Linked DNA regions of Homo sapiens: regions 1, 2, 3, 4, 5 and 6 are each linked to region 7. Evidence: promoter capture Hi-C in 16 types of primary human blood cells and fetal thymus (Javierre and others, 2016). All regions are on one chromosome and are shown on one strand. The core of a region is centred on a gene start or on the middle of the fragment in contact, and the rest is flanking DNA. Distances in the headings are between cores, read along the strand shown. Region 1 overlaps ABCA1 (ATP binding cassette subfamily A member 1). Region 2 holds the start of NIPSNAP3B (nipsnap homolog 3B). Region 3 holds the start of ABCA1 (ATP binding cassette subfamily A member 1). Region 4 overlaps LOC107987105 (a long non-coding RNA gene). Region 5 overlaps ABCA1 (ATP binding cassette subfamily A member 1). Region 6 has its middle 29 kb from the start of CT70. Region 7 holds the start of TMEM38B (transmembrane protein 38B).

What was found. The method cuts DNA at HindIII sites, captures the fragments that hold promoters and counts their contacts. A CHiCAGO score of 5 or more calls a contact.
Region 1: a fragment that was not itself captured here is called in contact with the fragment with the promoter of TMEM38B in region 7 in 1 of 17 cell types (total B cells); the score reaches 6.0 in total B cells.
Region 2: a fragment that was not itself captured here is called in contact with the fragment with the promoter of TMEM38B in region 7 in 5 of 17 cell types (total B cells, activated CD4 T cells, naive CD4 T cells and 2 more); the score reaches 10.3 in total B cells.
Region 3: the fragment with the promoter of ABCA1 here is called in contact with the fragment with the promoter of TMEM38B in region 7 in 2 of 17 cell types (naive CD4 T cells and monocytes); the score reaches 6.8 in naive CD4 T cells.
Region 4: a fragment that was not itself captured here is called in contact with the fragment with the promoter of TMEM38B in region 7 in 6 of 17 cell types (monocytes, naive CD8 T cells, total CD8 T cells and 3 more); the score reaches 10.2 in monocytes.
Region 5: a contact is called between a fragment that was not itself captured here and the fragment with the promoter of TMEM38B in region 7, in 1 of 17 cell types (monocytes). The highest score is 8.4, in monocytes.
Region 6: a contact is called between a fragment that was not itself captured here and the fragment with the promoter of TMEM38B in region 7, in 2 of 17 cell types (naive CD8 T cells and activated CD4 T cells). The highest score is 5.0, in naive CD8 T cells.

What each region holds. Positions count from the first base shown.
Region 1 is chr9:104,858,594-104,862,161 of GRCh38, reverse strand. ABCA1 (ATP binding cassette subfamily A member 1) reads left to right here. Exons shown (of 50, transcript NM_005502.4): 6 at 362-483; 7 at 3,464-3,568. Among named protein-coding and RNA genes, the nearest start is that of ABCA1, 68 kb to the left of the region's middle. The HindIII fragment of the contact is 1,085 bases long and covers 1,680-2,764 here.
Region 2 is chr9:104,760,697-104,764,685 of GRCh38, reverse strand. It overlaps NIPSNAP3B (nipsnap homolog 3B), which reads right to left and starts at 557. Exons shown (of 6, transcript NM_018376.4): 1 at 386-557. The coding sequence starts at 445. RefSeq lists silencers at 242-431, 629-828. The HindIII fragment of the contact is 717 bases long and covers 2,083-2,799 here.
Region 3 is chr9:104,925,980-104,929,505 of GRCh38, reverse strand. ABCA1 (ATP binding cassette subfamily A member 1) reads left to right here and starts at 1,351. Exons shown (of 50, transcript NM_005502.4): 1 at 1,351-1,571. LOC105376196 (a long non-coding RNA gene) reads right to left here and starts at 2,717. Exons shown (of 3, transcript NR_188620.1): 1 at 1,596-2,717. RefSeq lists silencers at 1,192-1,381, 2,718-2,957 and enhancers at 1,582-1,661, 1,982-2,041. The HindIII fragment of the contact is 9,744 bases long and covers 1-3,526 here.
Region 4 is chr9:104,739,259-104,742,850 of GRCh38, reverse strand. The region is part of intron 1 of LOC107987105 (a long non-coding RNA gene); the gene reads left to right. Among named protein-coding and RNA genes, the nearest start is that of NIPSNAP3A, 6.6 kb to the left of the region's middle. The HindIII fragment of the contact is 814 bases long and covers 1,002-1,815 here.
Region 5 is chr9:104,780,414-104,784,194 of GRCh38, reverse strand. It overlaps ABCA1 (ATP binding cassette subfamily A member 1), which reads left to right. Exons shown (of 50, transcript NM_005502.4): 50 at 1-3,189. It also overlaps a transcript of NIPSNAP3B not described here. Among named protein-coding and RNA genes, the nearest start is that of NIPSNAP3B, 18 kb to the right of the region's middle. The HindIII fragment of the contact is 6,350 bases long and covers 1-3,781 here.
Region 6 is chr9:104,960,892-104,964,678 of GRCh38, reverse strand. No RefSeq gene overlaps it. Among named protein-coding and RNA genes, the nearest start is that of CT70, 29 kb to the left of the region's middle. The HindIII fragment of the contact is 1,716 bases long and covers 753-2,468 here.
Region 7 is chr9:105,692,520-105,696,238 of GRCh38, reverse strand. TMEM38B (transmembrane protein 38B) reads right to left here and starts at 1,698. Exons shown (of 6, transcript NM_018112.3): 1 at 1,467-1,698. The coding sequence starts at 1,578. RefSeq lists a silencer at 1,595-1,864. The HindIII fragment of the contact is 6,405 bases long and covers 1-3,719 here.

The sequences.
Region 1 (3,568 bases), core at 973-3,472, 830 kb after region 7:
ATTGCACTCCAACCTAGGTGACAGGGTGAGACTCCGTCTCAAAATAAAAAAAAAAAAAGAAAAGGAAAGGCTGTGTGTGTGTGTATGTGTGTGTGTGTGTGTGTGTGTGTGTAACAGCACCATCACACTGTTTGAGTTGAGGAGCACATGCTGAGTGTGGCTCAACATGTTACCAGAAAGCAATATTTTCATGCCTCTCCTGATATGGCGATGCTCCCCTATCTCATTCCTGTGTGTGTTTAGCCAGGCAACTGTTGATCATCAATATTATGATAACGTTTCTCCACTGTCCCATTGTGCCCACTTTTTTTTTTTTTTTGAGTTACTTACTAAATAAAAATAAAACACTATTTCTCAATAGACTTGAAGCTTCAAGATTTCCTGGTGGACAATGAAACCTTCTCTGGGTTCCTGTATCACAACCTCTCTCTCCCAAAGTCTACTGTGGACAAGATGCTGAGGGCTGATGTCATTCTCCACAAGGTAAGCTGATGCCTCCAGCTTCCTCAGTAGGGCTGATGGCAATTACGTTGTGCAGCTACTGGAAAGAAATGAATAAACCCTTGTCCTTGTAATGGTGGTGAAGGGGAGGGAGGTAGTTTGAATACAACTTCACTTAATTTTACTTCCCTATTCAGGCAGGAATTGCCAAACCATCCAGGAGTGGAATATGCAACCTGGCGTCATGGGCCAGCTGGTTAAAATAAAATTGATTTCTGGCTTATCACTTGGCATTTGTGATGATTTCCTCCTACAAGGGATACATTTTAAGTTGAGTTAAACTTAAAAAATATTCACAGTTCTGAGGCAATAACCGTGGTTAAGGGTTATTGATCTGGAGGAGCTCTGTCTAAAAAATTGAGGACAGGAGACTTTAGACAAGGGTGTATTTGGAGACTTTTAAGAATTTTATAAAATAAGGGCTGGACGCAGTGGCACTGAGTTGAGAACTGTTGCTTGCTTTGCATTAAATAGGAGATCAGTCCCTGCAGCTTGTGGGAATAAGGCTTTAAATCTCTCCAATTTTAGCTCTGTGAGATGGCACTGGGGAAACAGAAATGAACGGACTAGTGTCACAAAGCTCAGGTGGGATGGACGAGATCACTTCAAAGGTCTGTAATCCCACGTCTATAATCCCAGCACTTTGGGAGGCCAAGGCGGGAAAATCACTTGAGGTCAGGAGTTCGAGACCATCCTGGCCAACATGGCAAAGCCTGTCTCTACTAAAAATATGAAAATTAGCTCAGCGTGGTGGCATGCTCCTGTAGTCCCAGCTACTCGTGAGGCTGAGACAGGAGAATCGTTTGAACCTGGGAGGCGGAGGTTGCAGTGAGCCAATATCACGCCATTGCACTCCAGCCTGGCTGACAGAGTGAGACTCCATCTCAAAAAAAAAAAAAAAAAAAGAATTTTATAAAATCAGGAAATAATATTAGTGTTTATGTTGAATTTTAACTTTAGAATCATAGAAAACTTCCTCTGGCATCATTATTAGACAGCTCTTGTGCAGTGGGTAGCACCAGACCCAGCTTGCATGGTTATTGATTTTTCAGAGACACTTTTTGAGCTTATTCTCTGGCAGAAAGGGGAACTGCTTCCTCCCCTATCTCGTGTCTGCATACTAGCTTGTCTTTACAAGAAGCAGAAGTAGTGGAAATGTTTATTCTTGAAAATAAGCTTTTTGCTTCACATGATCTAGAATTTTTAAAATTAGAAAAATGTGCTTACTGCGTGCCCTTCTGAAACTAGGAAAATATGCCTTGTGTTTACCAATTGTGTGGTTAGGAGATGGGCCAAAGGCATCAGGCTTTTGAAAGTAGTTGCATTTAGCATAATTTCCATTGCCCCCTGCCAATTTCATATCTGTCACATCTAATCAGTTTAAAATAAGGGGCATCCTAAGCATGGAGATGGTCCTTGGATGGTCCTTGGAGTTTCTGTATTTTCAGTATTCTTTTTTTTGAGCATACAAGACATTTATTGAAAAATTCTTGGGATCAATACTTGTGTAAGGAAAGGAAAGGGAACAAAGCATGATTGGGCAGAGGCAGAAGATGACATCAACAAAGGCCCTCCGTTGTCAGTATTCTTTTTTTTTTTTTTTTTTTGAGTTGGAGTCTCGCTCTGTCACCCAGGCTGGAGTGCAGTGGCGTGATCTCAGCTCACTACAACCTCTGCCTCCCAGGTTCAAGTGATTCTCTGCTTCAGCCTCCTGAGTAGCTGGGATTACAGGCATGCACCACCACACCTGGCTAATTGTTGTATTTTTAGTAGAGACGGGGTTTCACCATGTTGGTTGGCCAGACTGGTCTTGAACTCCTGACCTCAGGTGATCCGTCTGCCTTGGCCTCCCAAAGTGTTGGAATTACAGACATGACCCACTGCACCCGGCCTGTTGTCAGTATTCTTAAACATAGACACTAACTGTAGGCTGACAGCCTAGCAGCAAGGACCAGTTAAAGAAATGAGTAGAACTGAAGTGTGCTTGAGTATCTCTGGCAGTCAGCAAAAACTTAATGGGAATCATGGTAGGCCAAATGTTCTGCAGTATTTCAAAAGCTGCATGGGTTTTGAGAGGCTTTTGGTCCATCACTCACCTTAGGTTGTTCTACAAGCACATCAGCCTGCCCCAATTTAAACAGGGCAGTTAGTAATGGTGTAATAAAGAGTCTGCATTGTTCATTCCTTCAACAAATACTGGCTATAATGTTTCAGCACTGTGGATGCAAAGTGAGCAGGATAAACAGGCTCTTCTTTCAAAGCTTGTGGTCCACTGGACCACGTATGAAGTAGAATAGTTTAGGTCCAGAAAGGCAATTAAGTAAAATATGACCAAGAAGAGGCTCTCTAGTGGGTTTGGTATAAAGAAAAGATAAGAATGATTTAGAATTGGCCTATCAATGAGATAAGAGGCCTGGCTTTCTGGCACTCTGCTCTAGGGCAAGTAAAATGGAGAATTCCAAATTCTGAAATTGTTAGAACATAGTTCTGTGTCTTAGTTAAATATCTACACTTACAGATAAATAGCATAAATGCTTTCTCCCCATATTTCAGCCCAGTCCTACTTAAAGACAACATAAATTGCAAAATAGTGAGGATGTTGTTCATCTAATAAAAGTGGTTCCAGGAATTCAGACTCTGGATTCCTGTTTGCCAAATCATGTGTCCCACTCTTAAGAAAACGAGTTGGACTCTGGATTTTTCTTTGCAAGAGGGACAAGAGTGTGGGAGATACTGAGTTAATGCAACTTGCAGGTTTTAAGTGTCCTGTCATTGTGCCTTGTGCTTTGATACATTCTGAGTTTCAGTAAAGAGACCTGATGCATTGGACTGTTGCAATGGAACCTGTTTTAAGATCTTCAAAGCTGTATTGATATGAAGTTCTCCAAAAGACTTCAAGGACCCAGCTTCCAATCTTCATAATCCTCTTGTGCTTGTCTCTCTTTGCATGAAATGCTTCCAGGTATTTTTGCAAGGCTACCAGTTACATTTGACAAGTCTGTGCAATGGATCAAAATCAGAAGAGATGATTCAACTTGGTGACCAAGAAGTTTCTGAGCTTTGTGGC
Region 2 (3,989 bases), core at 1,192-3,691, 930 kb after region 7:
CGCCTGTAATTCCACCTACTCCGGAGGATGAGGCAGGAGAATCGCTTGAACCCGGGAGGCGGAGGTTGCACTGAGCCGAGACTACGCCACTGCACTCCAGCCTGGGCGACAGAGCGAGACTCCGTCTCAAAAACAAAAACAAAAATCACAAAAACACTGGCATCCAGTTAGAAAACCCCTCTGACAGCGACTGCCAGCGAGACGACCCCGGCCTGTAGCCTCCTCCTTGCGCGCCAGACGGCTCCAGAGACCGCGTTAGAACTTCGGCGGCGGCGCGGGGCCCCAGGTCTGGGAGCGCCTGAGCGTGGCTCGCACGCTTCAGAAATACCCCCCGCCCCTCCCCTCCCCTCCGGCCAGGGCTCGGGCGCGCCCCCGCGGCCAGTACCTGAGGCGCGAGCGTCCGTGAGGCAAGCGCCTTGGTCAGGCCGCTTCTGAGAACGAGCATGGCGCGGCTTCGGCACTGAGAAAAGCAGCCAGCCGAGTCCTTTGTGAGACTTCTCTGAAGTCTTCCCGAGTGGAAAAAAGCGGCTCCTGGACCACTGGCGAACTCAGGCAGGGGCGGGACTCGGCGGGGTCAGCTCCACCCCGGCGCGGGAGGCGCGACAGGTCCCGCAGTTGGCGTCTTTCTCTTCGGCGCTGAGCCTCGGTCCCCCTTGGTTTCCTGAAACGTTCTTGCCCCAGACGTTAGAGGTGACAGAATTAGCTGAAGGCTGGGATCGTTCCTGCCCCACCTTTCTGGGCCCTGACCTCATTCGCTCCGATGCGCAGTTGTGTAGATTCGTAAATGTGCGGCGGTTGTGCTTGTGTTGCCCCTGGAGAAGGAAGGGGAGGTGTTCAGCGTGTGCATGTGCAGTGCTTTGCATTTAAAGTCGAGATGTTGACAGGGTTAACTTGTTTCTTTGTTTGAGACGTAGTCTTGCTCTGTCGCCCAGGCTGGAGTGCACTGGCGCGATGTCGCCTCACTGCAAGCTCCGCCTCCCGGGTTCACGCCATTCTCCTGCTTCAGCCTCCCCAGTAGCTGGGACTACAGGCGCCCGCCACCACGCCCCGCTAATTTTTGTATTTTTTAGTAGAGACGGAGTTTCACCATATTGGCCAGGCTGGGACAGGGTTAACTTTTACAGGTTGTGATAGACGTGTATTTGTAGACCAGTGAGCCTTCGCTTTTCTGCATTATCTGTCCCCATTGCCACCCCACTGTGATCTTGGAAGGCTCCTAATAAAGATTTAATTTTCCATGAGCTCAGTGGAATAGCAGCACCGAGCCTGATAGGAAAAAGTCGAAGTTAAACATAGATAGTTTGAAACTAGATCGTTCTGTAAGCCTTAAGAGCAAAACAGCCGACCTCTGGTCTAGTCCTCCCAGTCCCAGAGTACTGGTCCCCAGACTAACCACCTTCAACATTTTAAGCTGTTCTTCTAATACCTGTTTCCGTATGTTTTTTATTTTTTTGAGACAGAGTCTTGCTCTGTCGCTCAGGCTGGGGTGCAGTGGCATGATCTTGGCTCACTGCAACCTCCGCCTCCCGGTTTCAAGAGATTCTCCTGCCTCAGCCTCCTGAGTAGCTGGAATTACAGGCGCACGCCACGACACCTGGCTAATTTTTCTATTTTTAGTAGAGACGGCGTTTCACCATGTTGGGCAGGCTGGTCTTGAACTCCTGACCTCAGGTGATCCTCTCGGCTCAGCCTCCCTAAGTGCTGGGATTACAGGCACGAGCCACTGCGCCTGGCCCGTATTTTTAAATAATAGTCATTTTCTGCTATTTCTTGCATTTTCAGTTATGGAGAGTATGTGTTGCCTTCCTTCTGTGGCAGATGAGGATTTAGGTCTCACAGAAGCCACTCCCCCGGGGGCTTATCATTTGTGTTGAGAACATTCAATATCCTCCTAGCAATTTGAAACTATATATTATTAACTATAGTTATCCTGAAGTGGTATAGAGCACTAGAACTTATTCCTCCTATCTAGCTATAATTTTGTTTAACAAATCTCTCCCATCCTTGTCTTCCTCCTAATCTTTCCCATCCTCTAGAATCCTGTTATACTTTTTATTTCTGAAATCAACTTTTTTTAAAGCTTATACATTAATGAGAACATGTGGTGTGCAACTTTCTCTTGTTGGCATATTTCACTTAACATAATATCCACCAGTTCCAGCCATGTTGCTGTGAAGGACAGGATTTCATTCCTTTTTACTGCTGAATAGTATTCCATTGTGTATATATAACATACTTTCTTTATCCATTAATCTTGCTGGACACCTAGGCTGATTCTGTATCTTGGCTATTGTGAACAGTGCTGCAATAAACATGGGGGAGGGAAGATGTCTTTCTGATATACTGATTTCTTTTCCTTTGGATAATGCTCAGTAGTGGGTTATTTGTAGTTTCTTGAGGAAACTCCATAGTGTTCTCCATAGTAGTTCTAAGAGTTTACATTCCCAACAGTGTATACGATTTTCCTTTTCTCTGCATCCTCATCAGCTTTGTTTTTTGACTTTTTGATAATAGCCTAACTGGGGTGAGATAATACCTCACTTCCCTGATGATGAGTGATGTTGAACATTTTTCATGTATTTGTGAGCTATTTGTATGTCTCCTTTGGAGAAATGTCTGTTCAGATCATTTGCCCATTCTTAAATTGATTTGTTTGGTTTTTATTGCTGGTGAGATGTTTGAGTTTCTTGTATATTCTGGATATGAATCCCTGTCAGATGAATAGTTTGCAATTATTTTTTCCCATTCTATAGGTGGTTTTTTCACTCTGTTGATTTTTTCATTTGCTGTGCAGAAGCTTTTTAGTTTGACATAATCTATTTTTGCTTTTGTTGTCTGTGCTTTTGAAATCTTATTCATAAAACTTTTTCCCAGACAATGTCCGGAAGCATTTCCCTTATATTTTCTTCTAGTACTTTTAGTTTCAGGTCTTACACTTAGCTCTTTGACCCATTGAACTGAATTTTTGTATAGAGTGAGAGGTGGGGGTCTAGTTTCACTCTTCTGCATATTGATATCCAGTTTTCCTGGCACTATTTATTGAAGAGACTGTCTTTTCCCCAGTGTATGTTCTTGGCACCTTTGTCAAAAACCAGTTGGCTGTAGATGTATGGATTAATTTCTGGGTTATATATTCTGTTCCATTGGTCTGTTTCTGTTTCTATCCCAGTACCATGTTGTTTTGGTTACTATAGCTTATAGTATATTTTGAAGGCTGGTAGTGTGATGCCTCTAGCTTTGTTCTTTTTGCTTAGGACTGCTAAAAGCAAATTCTTGATAAAGAAATAGACCTATTCTTTATAAGATATTAAATAACAATATCTAATGGTAGGTGTAAGAGGTATAATAATTTTGAAGTAGTGATGAAGGTAAAATAAATTTTCTGTATTTGCAACAACTATAAATAGAATTTGACAGTATCTGTGATTTTTACTGACTAAAAAGTTGCAGGTCCTGCTAATAATATTGTGGTTTGTTGCCTACCTTCACAAACAAAGGAAATGCTTAGAAGTTGGTGCCAATAAAGATGGAACTTTTACCTATCCAAGTTATCAGACTCTGAATTCTATCCTTCAGGATTTGTGTACTAGAGGTTACAAACCACTACTCTAGAGTATATAATTAGGAATGGAATTGCTGGGTCATAAGTTATGTATATATTCATCTTTATTAAATCGTGCCAAACTGTTCTATAAATGTATATTCTTAATAGCAGTGTATGAGGTTTTCCTGACCAATTTCTTATTATTGCCCATCTGATCTGATGAGTGTGAAGATGCATTTTTACACCTCTCATAACAAATAAGTATTAGCTGAAGGATGGTGGGAATTACAAGAAGTGGGCAAAGGGAACAATCTACTTGATGATGTTCTTGCATGTTTTTTTTTTTTTTTAAAGGTCAGGCTCATGCAAAAGCAGGAGAGGTGTATCCAGTGCTGGCCCAACTGGGTAGGAGGACAGCAGTTGTACATGTAAACTCTAGATGCTT
Region 3 (3,526 bases), core at 102-2,601, 770 kb after region 7:
GGAGGTGGGAAGAGAAGTAGGCTTGGGGCAGCTCTCTCATGCCACCTCATTCTGGCCAAAACTCAGGTCAAACTGTGAAGAGTCTAAATGTGAATCTGCCCTTCAAGGTGGCTACAAAGGTATCTTTGTCAAGGTAGGAGACCTTGTGGCCTCCACGTGCACTTCCAGGGCCTGCTTGGGCCTCTTCTACGGGTCTGTCCTGAGTCTTCTATGAATCTGCCCTTCAGGGCAGATTCATATTTAGACTCTTCACAGTTTGACCTGAGTTTTGGCCAGAATAAGGTGACATTTAGTTTGTTGGCTTGATGGATGACTTAAATATTTAGACATATGGTGTGTAGGCCTGCATTCCTACTCTTGCCTTTTTTTTTGCCCCTCCAGTGTTTTGGGTAGTTTTGCTCCCCTACAGCCAAAGGCAAACAGATAAGTTGGAGGTCTGGAGTGGCTACATAATTTTACACGACTGCAATTCTCTGGCTGCACTTCACAAATGTATACAAACTAAATACAAGTCCTGTGTTTTTATCACAGGGAGGCTGATCAATATAATGAAATTAAAAGGGGGCTGGTCCATATTGTTCTGTGTTTTTGTTTGTTTGTTTCTTTTTTTGTTTTTGTGGCCTCCTTCCTCTCAATTTATGAAGAGAAGCAGTAAGATGTTCCTCTCGGGTCCTCTGAGGGACCTGGGGAGCTCAGGCTGGGAATCTCCAAGGCAGTAGGTCGCCTATCAAAAATCAAAGTCCAGGTTTGTGGGGGGAAAACAAAAGCAGCCCATTACCCAGAGGACTGTCCGCCTTCCCCTCACCCCAGCCTAGGCCTTTGAAAGGAAACAAAAGACAAGACAAAATGATTGGCGTCCTGAGGGAGATTCAGCCTAGAGCTCTCTCTCCCCCAATCCCTCCCTCCGGCTGAGGAAACTAACAAAGGAAAAAAAAATTGCGGAAAGCAGGATTTAGAGGAAGCAAATTCCACTGGTGCCCTTGGCTGCCGGGAACGTGGACTAGAGAGTCTGCGGCGCAGCCCCGAGCCCAGCGCTTCCCGCGCGTCTTAGGCCGGCGGGCCCGGGCGGGGGAAGGGGACGCAGACCGCGGACCCTAAGACACCTGCTGTACCCTCCACCCCCACCCCACCCACCTCCCCCCAACTCCCTAGATGTGTCGTGGGCGGCTGAACGTCGCCCGTTTAAGGGGCGGGCCCCGGCTCCACGTGCTTTCTGCTGAGTGACTGAACTACATAAACAGAGGCCGGGAACGGGGCGGGGAGGAGGGAGAGCACAGGCTTTGACCGATAGTAACCTCTGCGCTCGGTGCAGCCGAATCTATAAAAGGAACTAGTCCCGGCAAAAACCCCGTAATTGCGAGCGAGAGTGAGTGGGGCCGGGACCCGCAGAGCCGAGCCGACCCTTCTCTCCCGGGCTGCGGCAGGGCAGGGCGGGGAGCTCCGCGCACCAACAGAGCCGGTTCTCAGGGCGCTTTGCTCCTTGTTTTTTCCCCGGTTCTGTTTTCTCCCCTTCTCCGGAAGGCTTGTCAAGGGGTAGGAGAAAGAGACGCAAACACAAAAGTGGAAAACAGGTAAGAGGCTCTCCAGTGACTTACTTGGGCGTTATTGTTTTGTTTCGAGGCCAAGGAGGCTTCGGGAAGTGCTCGGTTTCGGGGACTTTGATCCGGAGCCCCACATCCCCACCACTTGCAACTCAGATGGGACCGGAGGCGGTGTTAAATGGGGAGACGATGTCCTAGTACGAGCTCTGGTGACCCCAGGACTCTGCGCTGCTGCGCTTGGGGCTTGCCCGACGGTGGAGACCGGGGAGCATCTCTGGGCGTGGAGACCCGGGCGCAGTACCCCGGGCTCAGAGGGGTCGGGGGTTCCCGGGCGTGCTGAGGGCGCTGCTGCCGGGTGGGGAGAGCTGCAGGTCCGGCACCGAGCGCTGCTTTGTTCGGAGGGCCCTGAGCTGGCTAGAAACCCTTCTGGTTGCAGGTCGGCCAGTACCTACGGAGACAAATGCCAGCACTGAGTCTTCACTCGGTTCTTAAGAAGCTGGTCTGTTCTGACCTGGGAATTGGCTATATGCTCCCCGGGACTGGAGCGGCACAGTCCCGGACTGTGAATCCGGGAACTCGAGTTGGAGGTGTCCCAAACGGTCCGTGGTGCTATTGCTCACTAGAGGCCTTGGGTCTTTGTTTGACCTGAGGGGTAGGGAGGTCCTGCCTACAGTCTCCGTGCGCTCAGCTGAGCTGGTGTCCCTGGCGCAGAGCGCGGACGAGTTTTGTTTCCTTTTCTTTTTCTTTTTTTTCTTTCCTTTAAGTCTCGGTCTGTCGCCCAGGCTGGAGTGCAATGGAACGATCTCCGCTCACTGCAACCTCCGCCTCCCGGGTTCAAGCGATTCTCCTGCCTCAGCCTCCTGAGTAGCTGGGATTACAGGCGCGTCACCACATCCAGCTAATTTTTGTATTTTTAGTAGAGACGGGGTTTCAACTTGTTGGCCAGGCTGGTCTCGAACCCTCGACCTCAGGTGATCCACCGGCCTCGGCCTCCCCAAGTGCTGGGATTATAGGCGTGAGCCACCGCGCGCGGCCGAGTTTTGTTTCTTTTAAAAACAAGACTTAGGAGAGCCTGCGGAGACCCGGAGGTGGGGTGCCCAATCCTCCCTCTCCCACGTTCCCTGCAGCCCCATCTTCCAGACCGTTGCTGCTGGTCTCTCGGGGCAGCTTCTGCCTGGGCGCAGATGGGGAAGCTGGGCCGAGGTGGTGCCGTGGAATGACCGGGAGTAACCCCGGCGGGCGGCGCAGAACTCGGAGCTCCGCCGCGGGGCTGGGCTGGGCTCTGCCGTGAGGGTGGGGGTGCTGGGCGCGCGGGCTGCGGTGGCCCCCGGAGACTGGCCCGCAGCGCCTCCTGGCCGGAGGACCTAGGAATCGGCCGGCTCTACTAGGTGTCTTTGCTCGCGGTTCCGACTGTGAATCCGGTGAAGACCGGTGGTTGCAGACGGGGAGGAACTATGAGGTTGAGGCGAAAGCCCGTTTTGTTTTTTTTTTTTTGTTTTTTTGGTTTTTTTTTTTGTTAGCGTGTTTGCCAACTCCCAGGCCATTGGTAAAGCAGGAAGGTTCTTGGGGCGGCGGACGGTGCCAGGGTTATGTGTAGGTGCCTCTTTAGGTATATCTTTTATCAAAAAGAAGCAAAGAAATAAGATTAAAAATAAACAAAGAAAAAAGTTGTCTGGCACTGGCAGTAATTGGCCTGCCTTTGCAGCACTGATACCATTAGCTTTTAAAATCCGACTTTTCATTGACACTTCAAGAAGAGAATGGGTAGTATATACACATTCATCTCATAGTGGACAAATTTCATATTTAAAAAAACCTTCTGGGTACTGAAATCAGCAAGTCACTTGCCCTCCATGGCCGAATCCCTGCTTCCCACGAAGAGAACCTCACAAAAATTTCCCCCAAGTTAAAGAGTGGAATTTTCTTGATTTTTTTTTCTTTTTTTTTTAACGGCCGTAGTTTAGAACCCAGACTTAAATTATGAT
Region 4 (3,592 bases), core at 159-2,658, 950 kb after region 7:
CTGAACCTTTTGCTATTTGTTTCAGATTTTTCTTATTAAATATGGCTCGTTTTTTTTTTTACTAGGTGTTTAAGTCGAGATATCTTCTAGCTTTAAGCACTTACACACTTTGTTAGTACATATTTTTTTTCATTAAGTTCCCCTTCCAAATGAACACTCATTATTCGATGCTCGCCAGTGTTTTCTTTACCTCCACAAGTTGTCCCAGGTACCTACTAGCTGGGTAATTGATTAACTTTCTAATCTGAGTTAGATTTACTTGACTCTCATTGATTGTTTTTATAGCATCTTTAAGTTTGTTGTATTTTATTTATTCTCAATGTTGTATTGAGAGCTAGAACTTTAATGCAAGGGGCAAGTAGGCTGTGTCCAACCAAAAGGGGCCTATTGCCTCTTTTGGTCTTTATTAGGTGTTTCACGATACTGCCTAGGATTTTCGACACATTCTTTCTGAACTAAGTTCAAATGCCTCACTATCGCTTTTGAAGGTTAACAGAAATAGTTTATGGGAAATTAGAACTTCTCAGATTAATATTCCCTCTGAAAAACATTCTAAGTTGTCTTTTCATGATAGCTTAATAGTGCTATTAGAAGTTGCCTTCATATCCAAAATTATTTTCTTCTCATATAAAGATACTGAGTATTAAAAAAATACATTTCCCGCCGGGCGCGGTGGCTCACGCCTTTAATCCCAGCACCTTGGGAGGCCGAGACAGGCGGATCACGAGGTTAGGAGATCGAGACCATCCTGGCTAACACGGTGAAACCCCGTCTCTACTAAAAATACAAAAAATTAGCCGGGCATGGTGGCAGGTGCCTGTAGTCCCAGCTACTCCGGAGGCTGAGGCAGGAGAATGGCGTGCACCCGGGAGGCGGAGCTTGCAATGAGCCGAGATGAGGCCACTGTACTCCAGCCTGGGCGACAGAGCGAGACTCCGTCTCAAAAAAAAAAAAAAAAAAAGTTTCCCAATTTTCATACTCCCTTGGAGTCATCTGAAGCTTCCACTTAGCACAAAATAAAAACTGGGAAGAAAGTTAATAAAAGTCATAACTTTAGAGGGTACTTCAGTATAAGTCCTGTTTCATATTATTTTTTATTAAAAATCAGTTGGTCTTGCCAGGTGCTGTGGCTCACGCCTGTAATCCCAGCACTTTGGGAGGCAGACTGGCAGATCACTTGAGGTCAGGAGTTCAAGACTAGCCTGGCCAACATGGTGAAACCTTGTGTCTCCACTAAAAATACAAAAATTAGCCAGGTGTGGTGGCAGGCACCTGTAATCCCAGCTACTTGGGAGGCTGAAGCAGGAGAAGTGCTTGAACCCAGGAGGTGGAGGTTGCAGTGGCCCAAGTATGCACCACTGCACTCCAGCCTGGGTGAGAGTTTCAAAAACAAACAAAAACATTTGGTCCTTTGCCTCTTTGTTGTTTTTTGTTTGTTTTCTCTTCTTTGTTTTTGGAATGAAGCATATTTGTTAATTTATATTACTAAAGTCTCCTTTATAATTACCTGTTTATTGAGAACTGAACCCTCTTTGGTTAGTTCTCATACCTACTTGGCTGCCCTTTCATTTTTTAAAGGTTTTAAGAAATATTTACTTAATCTCAGATCACTTGTTCGGTTCTCATCCCTTTTTTTCTCAGAGAATGTCAGTGATGCCTATTTACCGACAAGGGGTCATCAGATTTTATTATTTCTGATATTTCTTACATGCTGTTATGTAGTATACCTTTTACTTAAGTCCTTTCTTACTTTCATTTCACTCTGTAAAGCTGATATTTACATTTTAGACTAAAACACACAGCAAAGAGGAAGCTTAAAGAAGTTAGGTGGTTTGCCAAAGGTAACAAAATAAGCCATTTAGAGCTGGTTGGCTCATTTTAATTGCTCTCTTACAATCCAATATTTGAGCATATTGTAACTTTGTTCCTCTTTCTCTTTTGATACTTAAATATTCCCAGGTTTATAAATAATGCTTCAATGAGTAATTTTGTAGATATGTCCTTAGGCACATCCCTGTAAGTGGAATTAATGAGTCAACTTTACAATTTTTGGTTCACCATAGCCATTTATGCTCCCAGGCAGTGAATCGTATTTCCTCTTCCTGCACATTCTTGCAATTCTTGTAAGACTTTAATATTTGCATATCTTATGGATGAAAAATGTTTCATTGATTTCATTTATATTGCTCTGATTTCTTGTGAATTGAGAATCTTTTCATAATTTTATAGGCCATGTTGTTTTTCTTTTGTTGAGGTCCCTGTTTATATTCTTGGCCCAATTTTTTATTTTGTTGTTCATCTTTTTCATATTGATTTGAATGTTGCAATCCTGTCCCCTCAGCCTCGCAAGGTGTGGCTGGGATTAGAGGTGCACAACCATGCCTGGCTTGGTTTGAATGCTTTAAAAAATATATATATATATTCCGGCCGGGCGTGGTGGCTCATGCCTGTAATCCCATCACCCAAAAGTGATGGGAGGCCGAGACAGGTGGATCATGAGGTCAGGAGGTCAAGACCAGCCTGGCCAAGATGCTGAAACCCTGTCTCTACTAAAAATACAAAAAAATTAGCTGGGCATGGTGGCACATGCCTGTAATCCCAGCTACTTGGGAGGCTGAGGCAGGAGAATCGCTTGAACCCTGGGCGGCAGAGGTTGCAGTGAGCAGAGATTGTGCCACTGCACTCCAGCCTGGGCGACAGAGCAAGACTCCATCTCAAAACAAACAAAACAAAAACTTCCAGACTAATCTTTTTTTTGGATGTATGTTTTACTGATATGTTCTCCCATTTGTAGCTATTATTTAAACTTTCTAAGAGTATTTTGCCATATAGGTGTTTCTAAATTTAAATTATTGGTCTCATGTTTTTGTGCTTTTCCCCCTATTTAAGGTATACTTTCTTTTTCCTTGTGCATGATGATATTCTTGTATATTTTCCTGTAGATATTTTTACAGTTTTGCTTTTGCCCTTTAGGTATTTAATCTCTCTCAAGTTTATTTTAGTCACAGTATGAGGTGTAGATTTAATTTGATCTTTTTTTCAATATTAGTAGTCCATTACCAAAGAACAGTTTATTAAATAGTTCATTTGTTCCCTACCGATTTGTAATGCCATTATAAATCAAAGACCATTCACTTGGGATATAAACTTCCACAGATGCCTAGGCTATTTCTGGATCCTTCTAATCTGTTCCATTGATTAATTTGTCTTTACCTGTATCAGTACTAAGCAATTTGAATTACTGTAGCTTTATTATCCATCTTGACATTTTGTATAGTAAATATACATTTCTTATTATAACATTGTCTTGGCTATTCTTTGTCTTTGCTATTCAGTATGAATTTTTGGATAAGTTTGAGAAACTAAAAAAAATCTCAGTATCATTTTGATGGAAATTATATTAGATTTACAGAGAAATTCTGAATAAATTCATATATTTATTCTTGAATTTCCTAACATGAACAAAATTTGTGTCCCCAGTTTTTGGGAGGTTTTTCTGTGTGCTTTAATGACGATTTATATTTTTCCTCAAAAATTCCTTATGCAGTTTTTATTCATTGGCATTTTATAGTTTTTGTGATGTCATGAGATG
Region 5 (3,781 bases), core at 732-3,231, 910 kb after region 7:
GTACTGATACTATTCAATGCAATGCAATTCAATGCAATGAAAACAAAATTCCATTACAGGGGCAGTGCCTTTGTAGCCTATGTCTTGTATGGCTCTCAAGTGAAAGACTTGAATTTAGTTTTTTACCTATACCTATGTGAAACTCTATTATGGAACCCAATGGACATATGGGTTTGAACTCACACTTTTTTTTTTTTTTTTGTTCCTGTGTATTCTCATTGGGGTTGCAACAATAATTCATCAAGTAATCATGGCCAGCGATTATTGATCAAAATCAAAAGGTAATGCACATCCTCATTCACTAAGCCATGCCATGCCCAGGAGACTGGTTTCCCGGTGACACATCCATTGCTGGCAATGAGTGTGCCAGAGTTATTAGTGCCAAGTTTTTCAGAAAGTTTGAAGCACCATGGTGTGTCATGCTCACTTTTGTGAAAGCTGCTCTGCTCAGAGTCTATCAACATTGAATATCAGTTGACAGAATGGTGCCATGCGTGGCTAACATCCTGCTTTGATTCCCTCTGATAAGCTGTTCTGGTGGCAGTAACATGCAACAAAAATGTGGGTGTCTCCAGGCACGGGAAACTTGGTTCCATTGTTATATTGTCCTATGCTTCGAGCCATGGGTCTACAGGGTCATCCTTATGAGACTCTTAAATATACTTAGATCCTGGTAAGAGGCAAAGAATCAACAGCCAAACTGCTGGGGCTGCAAGCTGCTGAAGCCAGGGCATGGGATTAAAGAGATTGTGCGTTCAAACCTAGGGAAGCCTGTGCCCATTTGTCCTGACTGTCTGCTAACATGGTACACTGCATCTCAAGATGTTTATCTGACACAAGTGTATTATTTCTGGCTTTTTGAATTAATCTAGAAAATGAAAAGATGGAGTTGTATTTTGACAAAAATGTTTGTACTTTTTAATGTTATTTGGAATTTTAAGTTCTATCAGTGACTTCTGAATCCTTAGAATGGCCTCTTTGTAGAACCCTGTGGTATAGAGGAGTATGGCCACTGCCCCACTATTTTTATTTTCTTATGTAAGTTTGCATATCAGTCATGACTAGTGCCTAGAAAGCAATGTGATGGTCAGGATCTCATGACATTATATTTGAGTTTCTTTCAGATCATTTAGGATACTCTTAATCTCACTTCATCAATCAAATATTTTTTGAGTGTATGCTGTAGCTGAAAGAGTATGTACGTACGTATAAGACTAGAGAGATATTAAGTCTCAGTACACTTCCTGTGCCATGTTATTCAGCTCACTGGTTTACAAATATAGGTTGTCTTGTGGTTGTAGGAGCCCACTGTAACAATACTGGGCAGCCTTTTTTTTTTTTTTTTTAATTGCAACAATGCAAAAGCCAAGAAAGTATAAGGGTCACAAGTCTAAACAATGAATTCTTCAACAGGGAAAACAGCTAGCTTGAAAACTTGCTGAAAAACACAACTTGTGTTTATGGCATTTAGTACCTTCAAATAATTGGCTTTGCAGATATTGGATACCCCATTAAATCTGACAGTCTCAAATTTTTCATCTCTTCAATCACTAGTCAAGAAAAATATAAAAACAACAAATACTTCCATATGGAGCATTTTTCAGAGTTTTCTAACCCAGTCTTATTTTTCTAGTCAGTAAACATTTGTAAAAATACTGTTTCACTAATACTTACTGTTAACTGTCTTGAGAGAAAAGAAAAATATGAGAGAACTATTGTTTGGGGAAGTTCAAGTGATCTTTCAATATCATTACTAACTTCTTCCACTTTTTCCAGAATTTGAATATTAACGCTAAAGGTGTAAGACTTCAGATTTCAAATTAATCTTTCTATATTTTTTAAATTTACAGAATATTATATAACCCACTGCTGAAAAAGAAAAAAATGATTGTTTTAGAAGTTAAAGTCAATATTGATTTTAAATATAAGTAATGAAGGCATATTTCCAATAACTAGTGATATGGCATCGTTGCATTTTACAGTATCTTCAAAAATACAGAATTTATAGAATAATTTCTCCTCATTTAATATTTTTCAAAATCAAAGTTATGGTTTCCTCATTTTACTAAAATCGTATTCTAATTCTTCATTATAGTAAATCTATGAGCAACTCCTTACTTCGGTTCCTCTGATTTCAAGGCCATATTTTAAAAAATCAAAAGGCACTGTGAACTATTTTGAAGAAAACACAACATTTTAATACAGATTGAAAGGACCTCTTCTGAAGCTAGAAACAATCTATAGTTATACATCTTCATTAATACTGTGTTACCTTTTAAAATAGTAATTTTTTACATTTTCCTGTGTAAACCTAATTGTGGTAGAAATTTTTACCAACTCTATACTCAATCAAGCAAAATTTCTGTATATTCCCTGTGGAATGTACCTATGTGAGTTTCAGAAATTCTCAAAATACGTGTTCAAAAATTTCTGCTTTTGCATCTTTGGGACACCTCAGAAAACTTATTAACAACTGTGAATATGAGAAATACAGAAGAAAATAATAAGCCCTCTATACATAAATGCCCAGCACAATTCATTGTTAAAAAACAACCAAACCTCACACTACTGTATTTCATTATCTGTACTGAAAGCAAATGCTTTGTGACTATTAAATGTTGCACATCATTCATTCACTGTATAGTAATCATTGACTAAAGCCATTTGTCTGTGTTTTCTTCTTGTGGTTGTATATATCAGGTAAAATATTTTCCAAAGAGCCATGTGTCATGTAATACTGAACCACTTTGATATTGAGACATTAATTTGTACCCTTGTTATTATCTACTAGTAATAATGTAATACTGTAGAAATATTGCTCTAATTCTTTTCAAAATTGTTGCATCCCCCTTAGAATGTTTCTATTTCCATAAGGATTTAGGTATGCTATTATCCCTTCTTATACCCTAAGATGAAGCTGTTTTTGTGCTCTTTGTTCATCATTGGCCCTCATTCCAAGCACTTTACGCTGTCTGTAATGGGATCTATTTTTGCACTGGAATATCTGAGAATTGCAAAACTAGACAAAAGTTTCACAACAGATTTCTAAGTTAAATCATTTTCATTAAAAGGAAAAAAGAAAAAAAATTTTGTATGTCAATAACTTTATATGAAGTATTAAAATGCATATTTCTATGTTGTAATATAATGAGTCACAAAATAAAGCTGTGACAGTTCTGTTGGTCTACAGAAATTTACTTTTGTGCATTTGTGGCACCACCTACTGTTGAAGGGTTATAAAGCCATTAGAAAAGTAGAGGGGAAGTGATTTGGATCAAAAGGAAAAACTTTAGAAAAGATTCAAATGTTCCCTTAATCATAAAAGAGAACTGAGGGGACTACTTGAAAATAAAAGGTTGTTTTGTATTTTCATGTTGGTTAAGATACTGAGTAACTGGTATTAAGTGTTAGAGGTTTTTAGATAAATATTCTGCTTAATGATTATGAAGCTGCACTGAGATTTCTGAAAATGCTCTGTAGCTGAGCTTATTTAATAAATGTTCACTTGGTATAGGGGAAGCTACAAAGGCAGCCTTCAGTGTCCTTTTGTTTATTCAACCAAAAATATAAGGACACAATGTAGCAGTTATACTGGGAAGGTGCTGGGGGTGGTGGCAATGGTGAGCAGGAAGGCGAAGTAGATATGGAAACAGAAATGATACTAATATCGGTGATTCCTTCCTTTTTTCCTGTAATAAGTGCTGTGCAGACAACATATGAGCAGTGCTGATAAATGTAAATGTATTTTTCATAGCTCATTAAGAATCAGTTTCAGAAAGAG
Region 6 (3,787 bases), core at 361-2,860, 730 kb after region 7:
GTAACTTGATTCTGTTTGGCAATATCATAAAAGTCAAGATTACAAAGCAAGTTCACTCTGGGCATACATTCTAGAGAAGCTCTTGTATATATGCATAAAAGGACATGTCAAAAATATTCATGACATTCATGATGATGAGAGCCAAAAATAGAAAACAATATAAAATGTCCCTTAAGAGAAGAATGGATAGTTGATTACTTCATTCACTGGAATATTACAAAGCAAATGAAATTACTTATTTTATTTTGTTTTTTGAGATGGAGTCTCACTCTGTGGCCCAGGCTGCAGTGCAGTGGCATGATCTCAGCTCACTGCAACCTCCACCTCCCAGGTTCAAGCAATTTTCCTGCCTCAGCCTCCCGAGTAGCTGGGATTACAGGCGTCTGCCATCATGCCCGGCTAATTTTTTGTATTTTTAGTAGAGATGGGGTTTCACCATGTTGGCCAGGCTGGTCTTGAACTCCTGACCTCAAGTGATCCACCCGCCTCGGCCTCCCAAAGTGTAGGGATTACAGGTGTGAGCCACTGCGCCCGGCTACTTGCAAATGAAATTACAAAGAAAATGAATATTATAAAGAAAATGAGTAACTGCATTATCAACATGTATAAATCTCAGAAACATAATTTGTGCAAGAGCAAGTTACAGAATGATGTCTACAGTGTCAGTATGATACCACATATAAAGTTTGGAACATACAAAAGAATACTAGTTATTGATTATGGACACTTTTATGTAGAAAATATAAAAAGCTTGTATGGGATTAATAAACACCAAATTCAGGGGAAAGGAAGGAAATAAAATTGGAAGGAACTTCAAACATGTCTGTAACATTTTATTTCTTTATTTCTTGAAATTGTCCATCAAAAAGAAAAAAAAGGAAGGAAAAGACGGACCAGTTTGGGGAACTGAAGTTACACTTACATTTTCTTTCTTTCTTTTTTTTTTAAGATGGAGTTTCTCTCTTGTTGCCCAGGCTGGAGTACAATGGCACTATCTCAGCTCACTGCAACCTCCACCTCCTGGGTTCAAGCAATTCTCCTGCTCCTACTCAGCCTCCCGAGTAACTGGGATTACAGGCATTGTGCCACCACGCCTGGCTAATTTTGAATTTTTAGTAGAGACGGGGTTTCTCCATGTTGCTCAGGCTGGTCTCGAACTCTCAACCTCAGGTGATCTGCCTGCCTCAGCCTCCCAAAGTGCCGAGATTATAGGCGTGAGTCACCGCACCCAGCCACACTTAACATTTTCAAATAACTTTCTGAGTTTATCTTATAATTCAATCCTATGAGCCATCACTCACTATAGGATCTCCTTGGCACTGAGAACTAAAGCAGGTAGGATCTTGCTGACAGCCATCTGCGCAGCTTTGTGTCTCCACATTCCTGCAACACAGTGGGACTAGTGGAGACAACATGGTTAGCTGACACTAACTGTCCTAAATTTGGCCAAAAAATTCTTACTCTAGGAGTGGAGCAGGTGCAGGCTGAGGGCATGGCTTTCTACTACAGGTCTATGGTGAATGCAGAGAGAAGGTGCAATTGTAAGCACTAAACACATCTCTCCATTCGCGTCTTCAAATCAAAACGCCAGATTAATCTATTGGAATTATATATACCAGTGAGTTGGCAGGTGAGCCAAATTCTTACACGAGAGTCTCTTCTCTCCCTTGCAATCAGTTTTCAGTTTTAGAAAAGATGTTTTTTGTACCTTTTTTAAAGGATTGAAACAGCAAGAGATCCACCTGCAGAGAACATATTGTATTTTGCTATATTAAAGCTATTTAACTGAAAATCCAGTTCTGCTGAAAAGTTTTAACCCTTGTTTTCTTATTATTTTAGTAACACATTGTCACTATAATAATTGGCTATTGAAAAATGTGTCTTTTTTTTTTTTCGTAACAAGAACACATAGGACTTGTTTTCTGGTTTCCACCTTCGACTTTATACCTTGAATCACAAGTCCTCCTGGGTTCTCAATAATGTGTATGAGAATGCCTTTCCATTTATCAGCAAACAAGACTTATTAATTAGGAACCCACATTTGCACACTACTCTACTGAGCACCTAATGAGTAGGTTTTATTTTATTTTATTTTATTTTACTTTATTTTATTTTATTTTATTTGAGACCGAGTCTCTCTCTGCCGCCCAGGCTGGAGTGCAGTGGTGTGATCTCGGCTCACTGCAGCCTCCACCTTCCAGGTTCAAGCAATTCTCCTGCCTGAGCCTCCTGAGTAGCTGGGACTACAGGTGCATGCCTCCACGCCCGGCTAATTTTTTGTATTTTTAGTAGGGACGGGGTTTCAACGTGTTGCCCAGGTTGGTCTTGAACTCCTGAGCTCAGGCAATCTGCCCACCTTGGCCTCCCAAAGTGCTAGGATTACAGGCGTGAGCCATCACGCCCAGCCTATGAGTAGGTTTTAAAAAAGACACCATCTTTACCTGATAGAGCCTAGAGTTGTATAAGCTTTTCAGTCTTCCTCTTTGGCCATACTGTTTTTGCTAATCGTTTTATAACCTTTAAATTGTTGGAACTGTTTGAGGCCAGGACTATAACCCCGTTCATGCCTTGGCTGAAGGTGGTAGGAAAGAGTTTCTCTGTCTTTAAGGAAAGCCTGCTTAGCTTTTGGCCATGGGCAATTGACTTTTCACCTTCTCAGCTGGTTTACACACAAGATTCTCTGTGAGGCAAAAAGCCAGATACAGCCTATTTCAATTGCCTCACACCCGGAGAAGGGAAAAGTGGTCCATCTTTACACCATGGTGTAGAGCTGCAGCAAACAGAAAATCTTCAAGGCAGTGTCAGCAGCTAATAACATCCACCCACACACACTTGAATTCACTTTATGGGGCTTACTCCCATATGAAGTAACGCCAAAAAACATTGACCTGTATAAACATGATCAAGTTCTATTATCATACCACTGGAATAAACAGCAGCAGTTTAGAAAAAAAAAAAGTTCTTAGTTAACAGAACTATGATCAACATACTTTTATGTGAGGGGCTCCATTTCTACCAACAAAGAGCGATGTTTTAAGAGTGAATTTCTCGCTTAAACCTTGTTACTTTAGTTAGTTTATCAATGTATAGCCCTGGCTGCTGATTTTTGGCTAGCATGGCTTTCCAGGGCAGAGGTTTCAGACTCCCAGGCAGGTGAGGACTTAGGTCTCTCCGAGAAATGATGTAGTAGAGCTTTCTCATTTGAAAGAACAGGAAATCAGGCAACAAAGGTTACTAAGGGTCAGGATGACTCATGCAGCCATATGCATGAGGGCTATATAGGGAGCTGTGAGTATGGAGGTGGGCGGAGTCTGCCAGTAAGAGGCACCAACGCCTCACCACCTTCCCAGAGGACCATGTGAGAGATTGATTTTTTTCTCTACTTTTTGTTGGTGGGATGTGAAATATCGTTAATCACCAAATGCTGACTATCCATATGGATAGTGGGAACCCTTGGGGTGGGCAAAAATTATTTCTTTGGGCTCATTCTCCTATCCAGAGAGCTGGGAAATTAGATGCTTCATAGCCTGGTCATTTCTGATTTCCAAGTACTCTATCCACATGGTATCAAAAAGAACTATTCCTTTTTTTCTTTTTCTTTTTTTCTTGTTTCCATTTTCCCTCCCTCCCTCCCTCCTTTCCTTCCTTCGTTCCTTCCTTTCTTCCTTCCTTTCCTTCCTTCCTACCTTCCTTCCTTCCTTCCCTTTCCTCCATCCTTTTATGCAGCCAGCCAGCCAGCCAGCCAGCCAGCCAATATTTACTGAGTACTTTCCACAGCCATAGGCAA
Region 7 (3,719 bases), core at 449-2,948:
TTTAGTGAGAAGAATCACACTGTGTACATTCTAACAAATGTCTGGCTTCAAATAGAAAACTGTTAGATTCTCATATCTACTTCCTTCTGTTACAGTATCACAACTCAGGTAGCCTCTGGAAAACTCCACTGTACACTTCTGAAAAAATGAGAGTGAAAAAGATAACATCTGCATATTATTACGAAAGTAATTTTAAACTGGCAGTGTCAGAGAATCCCATGGGTCCCTGGACCACAATGTGAACATCTGATTCAGCCTATACAAAAAAAAATTTTTTTAATCAAATTCTGAACATGTAGTAGCAACAAAACTTACTTTTTTCAAATCAAAGAAATAATATCTTATGCAGATAATGTGTTCTACTTTAATGCAGTAATACCATCCTCATCCAGGTCAAAATTTGTACCAACGATTTAAACTGAGCTACAAACTTCAACATAAATGAAAAATATTTCTGAGGTCTAAGGATTTTTTAAAACCAGTAAGTAGTCCATAAGAAAGATACAGCATCATCCTCCAGACCTCACTCATCAACTATCCGTAGGGCAAGGCAGATGAAAGACAGCAAGAACACAAAGAAAGTAGGCAAAGAAATGTCTGACCTCAAAGAAAGAAGAGGTCCATACAACTAAAAGCACAGTAGAATAACTACAAAAGTAAAGCAGTATTAGAGCAAACGCACCCTGGTGTAAAATCCAATAAAATACAACTACTGTCCCTTGATCGCATTGCTAAAAGAACTCAAAATGCTGTTTCAAGACTATATCCCCATTCTGCAGATAGTGAAACTACGCCAGGTAACTCTTGCTTGTACAGTGTCCGTCGTGACTGTGAAAAGGGGAACGCACTCGCTTCTCACATGCTAGGCAGGGTGTTAGGACACTGCGTGAAGGGGAATCCTGGTCTGGCTACAGGAGGCTTTTTGTTTCAGTGCTTGTACAACTTTCATAACTGGAGAGTAGTCCGCAACCATCTATTACTCCAAGAGACTGAGTCAGAAACCTGCTGTCTCCTCACATGACTTTCAAACACTGCGAGCGAGTGGCGACACTGCGAGCGAGTGGCGACACTGCGAGCGAGTGGCGGTACCGCGAGGAGGCCGCCCAAGCCCTGGGCTGGCGCGGATATCTGTGGTTCCGAAACGCTGCGGCAGCTTCTGTCAGTCCTGGGACTTCTGCGGGCGGTTGGCAAGGTCGGCCCTGCTCGCCCAGGCTACGGCCTCGCGGACCCCAGGTCACGCCTCCTTTGAGGAGTACTAGAGCCTCCGTCCTCCCCCACGCTGTTTCCCCATCTGCACTCAGTAAGTCAGACCAACCGGCCCTTGGCGCCCCTCCAACTCTACCATCGAACTGTCTGGGCTAGCGGCCACTCAGCCGCCCACCCGACCCACCCGACCCACCCGACTTAGACGGTCCTCGCCGTCAGGAGCACTCTGAGGGGTCCGGCCCGCGGCGCCCCGCACTCACCCGGCTGACGTTTCACCGCCATCACTGACACTAGATAGTGCGCGATGTCAAAAAAGGGAAACATGGACGTGCGGGAGAAGGCCAGAGCCAACTCGTCCCATGGAGAATCCATAACGACCACCGACCGCGGCAACCGAAGCAGCCGCGGCTACTGGTTCCCCGCGCTCGCGCGGTGAGGAGTAGGAGAGGGCACAGCCGCGGCCGCCCGCTCCTCCGCGCCGGCTCCAGCTCCGCGCGTGCGCCCTGGCGCCGAGGGGGCGGGGCCGCGCTTCGCGGGAGCCGCAGGCTCACCGGCGCTAGGCGGGTGGGCGGGGCGAGCGGGTTCCCCGCGGCTCCAGCCGGCTCTTGCCTCGGTTCTCCTAGTAAGGGTCCAGCGTCTTCTTGGTCCTGGGCGCAGTGCAGGACCTGGAGAGCGTGCAGATGAACAAAACACGGTCCTCAAGGGGAGACGCTCAGAGTTGGATTTATTTCTGTAAATTGATGTCATTCACCTAACATTTATCGAGCAACCACAGTGCAAGTCACACTGTGACTTACTGGAGATATAAAAATAAAACAATAATATCCTGACCTCAAGAACTATGCGTTCCCTGAAAGAGATTTTTTATAAAAAGAGAAAAAACGCACATAATGGTACAAAAGCAGGTACTGAGAAGTATAGCTGCCGTGCGAGAGCAGTTCGAAACGAAGATTACAATTCTGGGAAGTGAGTAAAGTGACATGTGAGCTGGACTTTAAAAGTTAAGTGAGAAACACAAGCTAGGTGGGAGATGGAGGGAGGTGTTTTGGGTTGACTACAAAGTGAGAAATGAGGTTGGGAAAAGTCCTCGAATGGCAGACAAAGCCAGGCAGTTTGGCTCCAGAGGTTAAATTCTTGATCAATCACTATGTTAAGCTCAGAGCCAGAATCTCTTCTCCTAATCTCTACGCTAACTGGGTTGTTTGGTGGAAGGTGAGGGAGTAGAGGTGCAACGAAGCAACAAGATTAAGAATAGATTGATGAGAAGCGACTGACAACGGAAAATCAGAGGGTATTCACTGGTCCAAGCAAAAGGTAGTGGAGGCTGTGGCAGCAGAAATTGAGACCAATTGTGGGAAACATGGGTAGAAGCAGAATATCGTCAGTGAGTGTCAGTCTGTACAGGCGGGAAAGGAAGCATTTGTCAAATAAAATGAGGAACGGGTGAGTAGGAGGATTGTGGTTGCATTCTGATAAATAGGAAACAAGAAGGAATAGGTTTGGGTAAGAAAAAAAACTAGCTTGGCACACTTATTTGATGTGTGAACAGATTATGCTGGCACCAGGAAATTGGAGAAACGTGATTAGCTGCTAGGTAGGTGACAGCTTCACGGGTGTATGCACTGCAAAAGGAGAATTTTTTTTATCTGAATATGTATTCATTAATTTTAATTCATTTAACAAAATGTTTTTTGCGTGCCTACTATGTAACCAGCATTTTGCTGGATGTCAGAAATACTGCCCTAAACACTAAGTGTTTAAAACGTAGGAAAATTGTAGTAAATCTCTACACTTCATTACTTATCAAGAAAGAATAGACTTGTTCAAATACTTTTCACGTGTGGTTTTCTAAGCAAGCACTTCCCGTAGAGAAAAGTCTTTAGACCTGTAGCACACTTTCTAGCAAAACTAAGGGGAAAAAAACCACCTGTGAATATTTATACTTTCCTGTTTAAGTCTGTTCTTTCCATACTTTTTACACATTCGCTTATTTTTGGAATTTTAGTTTTGCGAATTTAGGCTCAGAGTTTGGATATTACTTCTTTTTTTTCTTTTCTTGTTTTTTTTTTTTTTTTTTTTTTTTTTTTTTGATATGTAATCTTGCTCTGTTGCCAGACGAGTGCAGTGGCGCGATCTCGGCTCACTGCAACCCCCAACTCGCTGATTCAAGCGATTCTCCTGCCTCAGCCTCCCGAGTAGCTGGGATTAAAGGCACGTGCCACCACGTTTTTTTTGTATTTTTAGTACAGACGGGGTTTCACCATGTTGGCCAGGATGGTTTGGAACTCCTGACCTCATGATCCGCCCGCCTTGGCCTCCCAAAGTGCTGGGATTACAGGCGTGAGCCACTCACACCCAGCCTGGATATTATTTCTTTAAATATTTTACATTTTAACAGTCTTAAATTTTGCAAAATATATGGTTAGTCTTTGGACTTAAAAAAATATATGATGTAATCTTTAAGACACTACTGAATTGTGTGTCTATACCAGTATTATTCTGGGGTACCATTA